Linked DNA regions of Homo sapiens: all the other regions are linked to region 1. The links are contacts of gene promoters, found by promoter capture Hi-C in blood cells and fetal thymus (Javierre and others, 2016). All regions are on one chromosome and are shown on one strand. Each heading gives the region's core, a stretch centred on a gene start or on the middle of the fragment in contact. The rest is flanking DNA. Distances are from core to core; before and after follow the strand shown. Region 1 holds the start of QRICH1 (glutamine rich 1). Region 2 holds the start of DAG1 (dystroglycan 1). Region 3 overlaps NCKIPSD (NCK interacting protein with SH3 domain).

Region 1 (2,700 bases), core at 24-2,523:
ATCAGATTTTAGTAATTTCTGCTGGGATTTCTGCAATTTCAAAAAAGGTAAAGCACTGATTCTCAGGTTGTTCCATTTTGTTTAAGGCCAACTTTTTGGCTGAGGCAAAGGTGGGCCTTTAATATAATAAAGTAAGCCCCTCCCACTTACGCAAAAGAAAAGCTGCGTTTAAGGATTTAAACTGGCATTTTAGAGCTCGGAGTTCACATGGGCCACATAAGCGAATTCCCTTCCGGAGCGCACAGAGGTGACGTGTATGAATTACGCTTATGGACGTATTAGTTTCTAATGAAAGATAAGCAGGTACCACTCAAGGGCCTTCTAATATTAACCTTCCCTGCCCGGCAGAAAGCCCAGTACAAGGTGAGGAAATCCGAAGGGGCTCACTGCCCTCTCAAACCAAGAGGGCTTGGTTTCCGAAGCAGAGAAACACCCTACCCAAGCACCCGCACCGTACTTGGGCCTCAAGTAACGGCATTCTTCGAGGAGAACGGGCAATCTCGCCCCCCTCACAGAGGAGCGGAACCGCAAGCCAGACAGCAAAGCTGGTTGGTTTCTCTCCAGGCCGAGGCCACGGATGCCCGGGAACGTCACCAGACCAGAAAGGACCCAATCCTCAACCTTCCCAGCGCAACGAGCCGCGGCCGGCCCTCTGCTCAGCAGAAGCCTCCTGCGCGCTCTCGAGGCAGCACCGCCACCCGATATCAGAGCGCGCGCCCCAAAACTGGGGGTCGTCACGGGCGCGCGCTCCAGAAAGCCGCGGTTGCCCACGGGCCACAGCTCCTAGAGCAGAGATATCCGGGCCGGGAACGCGCACGTCGGCGGCCACGCGCACCGAGAGCCGCACAGCGCGCGCGCGTAAAAACAGGCTCAGCCGCGCGCCCGCACCGGCGCGCCATCTCGCGCCGCGCCCACCCAAATCCCCGGGCCACCCCTCCCCCATCCACAGGGCGGGGTGCGCTAGCCCAGGAACGTTTTCGGCTCCGGAGCCGCCCCGAACTCTCCAGGGCCCAGCGGTAGTGGCCCGCCCGCCCCCGCCCGCCGTTGTGTGGGGTGGGCCCCCCGTCTCAGGCCTACAGCTTCGCCGCATCCCCACCCGCACTGGAGCCCTCACCCGGCGACGTCACTGCCGCCGCCGCCGCCGCCTCCGCTGCACCCGCCGGCCCCGCCGCACCGCCAGGGACCCTGGTTCTGCCGTCGTCGCTCCAAGACCGACAGGGTTTTCTCCTCACAGCTCCCTGGGCGCCATCTTACATTCAACCCTCACAGCCAATAGGAGCCGATTGCTCCTCTCGCGATAATCGGGGCGTCGGATCCCGCGAGATCTGGGACTGCCTACCGGCCAAAATTAAAGTGAACGCTTCAGCAGGGGAAGGTGGCCGCGCTTCTGGCCGCTAGAGCGGATAGTGGATCCTAGGGTATGGAGCGGCTCGCTCCGCCCATGGACGCCTCTCCATGTGGGGCGGAGCTAGGGCCGTGGCTTGGCCTAGTAGTGGAGTCTCGGAAGGCTAGGGCTCCAAGCTAGCTCTTTGGACCCACCTTCCGTCGCCCGCCAGAGCCTCCTTTGGTCGAGCACGCCCACGCGGGGCGGGGCCTGGCCAGGCTCGGCCTCTCGCTTAAGGTGGACCCCACAAACTTCTGTCCTGGGCCTGGCGTCCCCAGCCGTGCCCTGCCTGGGAAGCCTCTAGGTTGCTCACCTCCTGGAGGAGTCAGCATCTGGTACTCCCGCTGTCTGCTGCCATCTGAGTTCAGCCTTCCGCAGTTGGGTCCACCTTAAAGCGGGCCCCCGGGTAGCCTAGTGTTTGTATACAGGGAAAATGTGGAAGGCGTTAAAGCTGCAGGCACACTCGGGCCTCAGCAGCAGCCTACACTGCCCCCAGAGGGCTTCCAGCCTGCTGTAGACTCTTTTTGCCTCGGAGCTTTTGCCCTTGTTCCTCTTATCCTGGCAAACTCCCCGTAGTCTTTCGTGATTCCCTTCAGAAGTCACTTCGTTAGAGTAATGTTTTCTGAGGCCCAGGCTGGGTCAGGAACCTCTTCCAGTCTTGCACAGGCCCCAGGGAGACCGCTCCCATACAGTGCTTGGTCACCCATTTCCCCTCCCGTGAACTTGGAAGGCCACCACAGCACGTATGCCCCATCTCACTTTGCCTGGCACGTAGTAGGCACTCAAAAATTATATGCCGAATGGGCCGGGCACGGTGGCTGAAGTCTGTAATCCCAACACTTTGGGAGACCGAGGCGGGTGAATCACCTGAGGTCAGGAGTTTGAGACCAGCCTGGCCAACATGGTGAACCCCGTCTCTACTAAAAATACAAAATTAGCCGAGTGTGGTGGTGCATGCCTGTGATCCCAGCTACTTAAGAGGCTGAGGCAGGAAAACTGCTTGAACCTGGGAGGCAGAGGTTGCAGTGAGCTGAGATCACACCATTGCACTGCAGCTTGGGGGACAAGAGTGAGACTCCGTCTCAAAAATAAAAAAGAATTATAGGCTGATTGGGCGCAGTGGCTCACGCCTGCAATCCCAGCACTTTGGGAGGCCGAGGCGGGCAGATCACCTGGGGTCAGGAGTTCCAGACCAGTCTGGCCAATTTGGCAAAACCCCGTCTCTACTGAAATTACAAAAATTATTCAGGAGTGGTGGCGCCCGCCTGTAATCCCAGCTACTTGGGAGGCTGAGGCACGAGAATCGCTTGAACCCG
Region 2 (2,700 bases), core at 1-2,500, 380 kb after region 1:
TTGGAGCCGAGACACTGAAGTATAGATAATTGCAAAAAGGTATGTTTTTGGGAGATGGGGCATTCCTTTCTTATCTCTGCAACTTGCATCTCCCAGACGCTCCTGAGGAGGGAGGGAAAGCCAGGGAGCCCCAGAGCTCTCCGGGATCCAGGGAGGAAACCATGGCTGGTGGCAGCCAGTTCTGTGTTCAGAATGTGCTTGCTGTCAAGAGTGCAGGCCTGGAATTCCAGCCTGGCCACAGGCCAAGGAGGGAATGGACCCATCCTGCGCATGGTGTGGGGATGAGAAGCAGAGCCCACCACGGGTCTCATTCCCAGACCCATCCGGTAACTGTCAGTTTCAGTAACTGTGAAGTCTGGGGCTTTTGGGGTGGGGGGCTGCAGGTTAAGTCCTGGGGAGAGCTAGAGCTACCTTAGGACCCTCCCCTTGAATGTTCCAGGCAGCAACCCCCCTCTCTTATTTCTTCCCCCACCAAAAGAATGCAGGCCACTAGGAGTGAGTGACCAGCGCCTGCGAGTTAGAGCTATTTTGGGCAGGAGAGCAGGCGTCGGATTCCAGTGTTCCAGGCAGGGGGAGGGGACGAGGGTTAGGCCTGAGGCGCTTTCCGACTCCCCAGCCTGCTGTGGGCGAGGCTCTAGGAGATGAGCTAGCTTCCCGCTCCTCCTGTCCCTGGCCTCAGTCTCCCATCCGTGTAAGGGCCGGGCAGCAAGGCTTTCATCCTTTGCAATTGAGAGAACGCTTCCTGATTGTTCTCATGGCTTAGAAATACCCCTTGATTTGCATTCGAAGGAAATAAGGAGGGCTGAACGCAGTCGACGGGTGGCCAGTTGCTGGGCCAGTTCGCAGTCCTGACTGTCCCTTGATTAGTCTTAGAGGCCCAAAGGCCTGAAGTTGGGCGGGGAGCCCCTCCCCCACACTACTGGTTCTGAAGGCTCCGAGTGACCGGGACCGACCGCCGGGGTGTGTCCCGGGACGGACTTCCCTGGCCGTGGGGGCGAGGCTTCCATAATGGGGCGTGACTTTTAGGGCGGGGGAGTGGCTAGCCAATGAGCAGAGAGGTGCTGGCCGGGGCGGGGCTTGCGCGCGGGTGCGGCGCGCTGCGGAGCGGCCGACGCAGGCAGAAGCCGGCGGCGCGCGGACAGCCAGTCGGCGCCGCGCGGAGCTGGCCGCTGGATTGGCTGCAACACTCGCGTGTCAGGCGGTTGCTAGGCTCCGGCCGCGCGCCCCGCCCTTGCGCTCAGCGCCCTCTCACCGCCCGGTACGTGCTCGCGCGAAGGCTGCGGCGCGGCGCTCGCGCCTCTTAGGCTTGGCGGTGGCGGCGGCGGCAGCTTCGCGCCGAATCCCCGGGGAGCGGCGGTGGCGGCGTCCTGGGGCCAGGAGGAGCGAACACCTGCCGCGGTCCTCCCGCCGGCGCTGGGTGAGTGCACCGCCCGCCCTATCCGCTGTGCCTGGCTGCTTGGGCCCCCATCCCTGCTGCCGGCTGAGCCTTCCGCGGAACACCTGCTGCTGCTCGCTGTTCGGCCCGGGGCGGGGACACGGCCGCGGACGTCCTTGTGGGTGAGGAGGCGGTGCCGCCCGGGCGGAGCCGCCCCTTTGCTCTGGGTCCCGCAGGCAAAGGCTCGGAGCGTTCGGCTGCAAGGCCCGGGCCGCGCGCCGCGGCGATGGGCCAGGCCTTAGCTCGGCCCGCGCTCCCGGGAACGTGGAGCCTGCGCCTTGGCCGCGGTCGTGAGCCGCCTGCGGGCCGCCTCCCTGGCTTCCAATAGGGGTTGTGGCCCAGTTGGGCCGGATTCCGACTGTGGGGAGTCGAGCCCCGCTAGAGGCAGGGAAGGGCACCGCTGCCGCCACTGCTCTGTCAGAGCTGCTCAGAGCCTTGGTGGGTTCCGTCATCCTTACTTGAGCTCCTTTGGAAGCTTGTTTACTTACTACCTTTTCACTTTGTATTTGGCAGACCTGGTTCACCTGCGAGTGTATTTGGATAGTGTCTCCACAGAAAATGTCGTCTCGGCTTGGAATCTTTTTGCCATAAATTCTAAGTTAGTTTCCTACAAACTCAACTGGTAACTTAAAATGCATCCTTTAATCTCTATAACTTGAAAAGTTCTTATTTTTGTAAATCGAGTTGCTTCAGAATTAGTTTTAATGGTGACGATGAAGTTTTGACTGGTTGAGGCAAGAGCCTGGGACAGCACCTTCATAGCGCAGAGTCTAACTTAAGATTCTAGCCTGCTGCTTCCCTAAATAAGCGAGTAGAAGTGACTCCTGGCATAGAAGCCAGACTCCGTGAAGGGAAGGTGGTGTTTATAGGACATAATTCCAGATAAAGAGCTGGATGTGCTTTCAGGTGTTTTGCAAAGTCTGGTGTAGATGGGGTATTGCAGTTTTATCAGGTTCTATGCTTAGTTAAGTTCAGAGACATTATTTTGGAATGTTCCTGTTCTAAAAAAGAATTCAACCGTACTACATTTTGGAGGCATAAAAATCCATAGTTTGAGTATGGAGAAGTTTAGTTGAACTTTTGTGGGTTTTTTTTGCTGTGAACTAAGGAAGAAGAGCTCATGGCCTGTGTCCTGTATTTTGGAGAAATCAGATTTCAGTAGGGAGTTGGATCCATCATGTGAAGACCCTATGGGATATAAAAGCTTGTGCTGACATGTGCTTTTGTTAAAAGAGGCACAGTGCAAATCCTCACTGTTCTTAAAA
Region 3 (2,700 bases), core at 201-2,700, 410 kb before region 1:
CATCCTGCTCCAGGCCCTGGGGGGGGCAGGGGACAGCAGTTAGACCTGAAGGCCAAACGGAGGTGCTCAGCCCAGGCCCAGCCCGAGATAGAACCCAGGGCAGAGAACCAATATAGCGAAAGCCTGGAATGCTAGACATAGCACAAAAAGTTGAACCAGAATATGGAATGGGGTTCTCAAACTGTATCACTCAGGGAGCTGAGGCACAGGGTGACCCCCATGCTGCCACATTACATATTAGGTCCTGATCAGGATTTTACCCCACAGCAAGGCTCTTGGCTAAGATGTTTCTGAAAATCAGAGGTCTAAAGCAAAAACATAGCCCAGGGGCTCCCAGCTTGCAGCCAGGAGCGCATACCTCGTCTATCCCTGGTCTTGGCTCAGAGCCCAGGTTGAGATGCCAAACAGGAAGTCTCCAGTATCTGGAATCCTTAATACATCACTCTGCATCTTGCTGATCTTTCACAAAACCAAGGTCATACCCCAGAACAGCCCTGTCCTTGTAAGGGCCCTCTGTAAGCCCTGGGAGCTGAGAATGGGTCAAAGGGACTTGCCCTCCCCAACCCTGCTGCTGGCCCTCATCCCCACAAGATGTCTCAGTAAGCTTCCAAACCCACCCTGGGAAGCAGTTCTGTGTTTGTGGCAAAGGATAAACATGAGAGAGGGGCCTAGCCCCTGTTCCAGGCTCTGTACTGCCATCCCCAACATTCCAGGGATCCAGTCTACTCTGCCTATCTGACATGGGGAGTGTAGGGTAGCAGCTATCAAACCAGCTACCCCCAGCCCTCCCCTGGCCCTGGCACACGTAGTCCATCAGGCTACATAGGAGTCCCGGAGCTGAGATGAACTCATTCCACCATGGGTTTGAGAAGCTTCCCTGATGGGCACAGACAGGTGGGCACAGAGGTCAGCAAAGCCCTCCAGGTGGTATGAGGTGTGCCAGAGTGCAGGGAGAGGAGACAGGGGGATAGAAAGACATGAAGACACACACACACACACACACACACACACACACACACACACAGAGAGAGAGAGAAAGAAAGGAATGGGGAAAGAGAGGAGCTCAGAGAGGAACGGAGAGGCAGACAGAGGGAAACAACGCAGAAAGAAACAGAGCCAAAGCCAGAGTGTGGGGGGAGCCGGAGGAAGAAACAAAAACACACACATGTGGAGTCGGAACGACACAGGCAGAGAGGCACAGAGTCGCAGCAATCCAGACAGAAAGAGACACGCAGAAAGAAACAGACAGTGACAGAGAAGATGGTAGCCTCTCTGCCCTCCCCAAACACCTTGCCCCACTGGTCCTGGCTGGCGGCAGGGGACTCACAGGCCCTTGACCTATGCCCAGTAGGGGAAGAGACAGGACTTTTCCTCAGAGGCCTTCAATGAGACCCCATTCCCAAAAAGGTTGGGTCTGACACACAGCAGCCATGGTGTCCACGGCCCCCACTCCCACCCCTGGCACTCCTAGATGGGATCACGCCAAGGGTCTATGAGGAAGCCCCTAGGCCCCCAGGGCCCATCCTTCCTGGTAAGACCAGATGACACTTCCAAATTTATCCCGTTATTTCTGTCCTGAACTGGGCTGGGACAGGATGTTTCCTAAAGGATAAGGACTAGGACGGGGCGGGGGTGTCTGGCACAGGCCCGGCAGCTCTGGGCCCTTCTTCCCCCTGTGGTCAGAATAGACCAGCTGGAGATACGCACCCCAACCCCCGCAGCAGGGCTACTCTTAGGGAAACAGGAACTGGGACTGCAGCTTCCACTGGAAGGAAATGGGGCCACGATCAGACCAGGAGAAGCTATAAGAACTCACTTCATCACAATGTGAGCAGTCCCCACTCCAGGCTGGGAACAAGTAGGGATGGAACCCATTTTCAAAGCAAGAAAGTTTGAGAAGTCAGGGTTGGGGAGTGGAGCAGACAGTGTCAGCAGGGGCATGGGTCCTTGGTTCAAATAAGGTTGGTAGAGACTTAAGAAGAGCTTAGAGGGTGGCTGAACACAGGCTAGTGAAAGACACTGAAGTACCAAAGCTTGGGTGTTACATAGGGGATGGAGGTGTCTATGGCTCTAGGGTCCAAGTTGGGGGGTTGAGGACCTGGAGAATGGCTAGGGAAACAGGTGGTGTCCAAGGTGGTCCAGGTCTCAGTGGTGGCTCCAACGGGGGGCAAGGCGCGGGGTTGGGGGAAGAAGGAAGGGAGGGAGGGAGGGAGGGAGGGAGGGAGGGAGGGAGGTTGGTTGTGGGGTCCTAGGAATCCAGAGAAGGGGCATATTAAGGATCTGGGGTCTCAGGGATTTGAATAATTGGCCAGGATTCGGTGGGGCTCAGGGTCGCCATTCAGATGGCGGACTCGATACTGAAGGGTCTGGGGTCCTGAGGAGTCTCAGTCCCAGAGTTAGGCTTTTGGTCGATCGGGAGTTGGTCTGTCAAGGGCCTGGTCTTTTGTGGGTGATGCTGACACTTGGGGTCTCAGTCCCCGTGGGTCCGGGGGTCTCAGGGTCAGGTTCTCAAACTCCCTGTCTGATAGAGGTCCTGGCCTCGGGTCCCGGAGAGGGTGGGGTCCCTGGGTCGGTTCCGCGGGGCTGTGAAGGGGTCCTGCCCCAGGGGCGCGGAGGCCGGGCGGGAAGGGGCGCACTCACCTGCAGGCGGCGCAGGTAGGCTGGCGGCACGTAGCCCGTCTCACCACTGCGCGCCCGCGC

Evidence for each region. Contacts are between HindIII fragments. The CHiCAGO score rates a contact against its expected background, and 5 or more counts as called.
Region 2: a contact is called between the fragment with the promoter of DAG1 here and the fragment with the promoter of QRICH1 in region 1, in 6 of 17 cell types (M1 macrophages, endothelial precursors, M0 macrophages and 3 more). The highest score is 7.7, in M1 macrophages.
Region 3: a fragment that was not itself captured here is called in contact with the fragment with the promoter of QRICH1 in region 1 in 3 of 17 cell types (naive CD8 T cells, naive CD4 T cells and total CD8 T cells); the score reaches 5.3 in naive CD8 T cells.

Annotation. Positions count from the first base shown.
Region 1 is chr3:49,092,798-49,095,497 of GRCh38, forward strand. It overlaps QRICH1 (glutamine rich 1), which reads right to left and starts at 1,274. Exons shown (of 10, transcript NM_198880.3): 1 at 1,115-1,274. RefSeq lists enhancers at 398-910, 1,279-1,398, 1,509-1,848 and a silencer at 909-1,158. The HindIII fragment of the contact is 6,132 bases long and covers 1-2,700 here.
Region 2 is chr3:49,469,017-49,471,716 of GRCh38, forward strand. It overlaps DAG1 (dystroglycan 1), which reads left to right and starts at 1,251. Exons shown (of 3, transcript NM_004393.6): 1 at 1,251-1,417. RefSeq lists a silencer at 930-1,669. The HindIII fragment of the contact is 13,712 bases long and covers 1-1,908 here.
Region 3 is chr3:48,682,997-48,685,696 of GRCh38, forward strand. It overlaps NCKIPSD (NCK interacting protein with SH3 domain), which reads right to left. Exons shown (of 13, transcript NM_016453.4): 1 at 2,641-2,700; 2 at 1-16. Among named protein-coding and RNA genes, the nearest start is that of NCKIPSD, 1.6 kb to the right of the region's middle. RefSeq lists silencers at 2,427-2,700, 2,540-2,700. The HindIII fragment of the contact is 1,161 bases long and covers 871-2,031 here.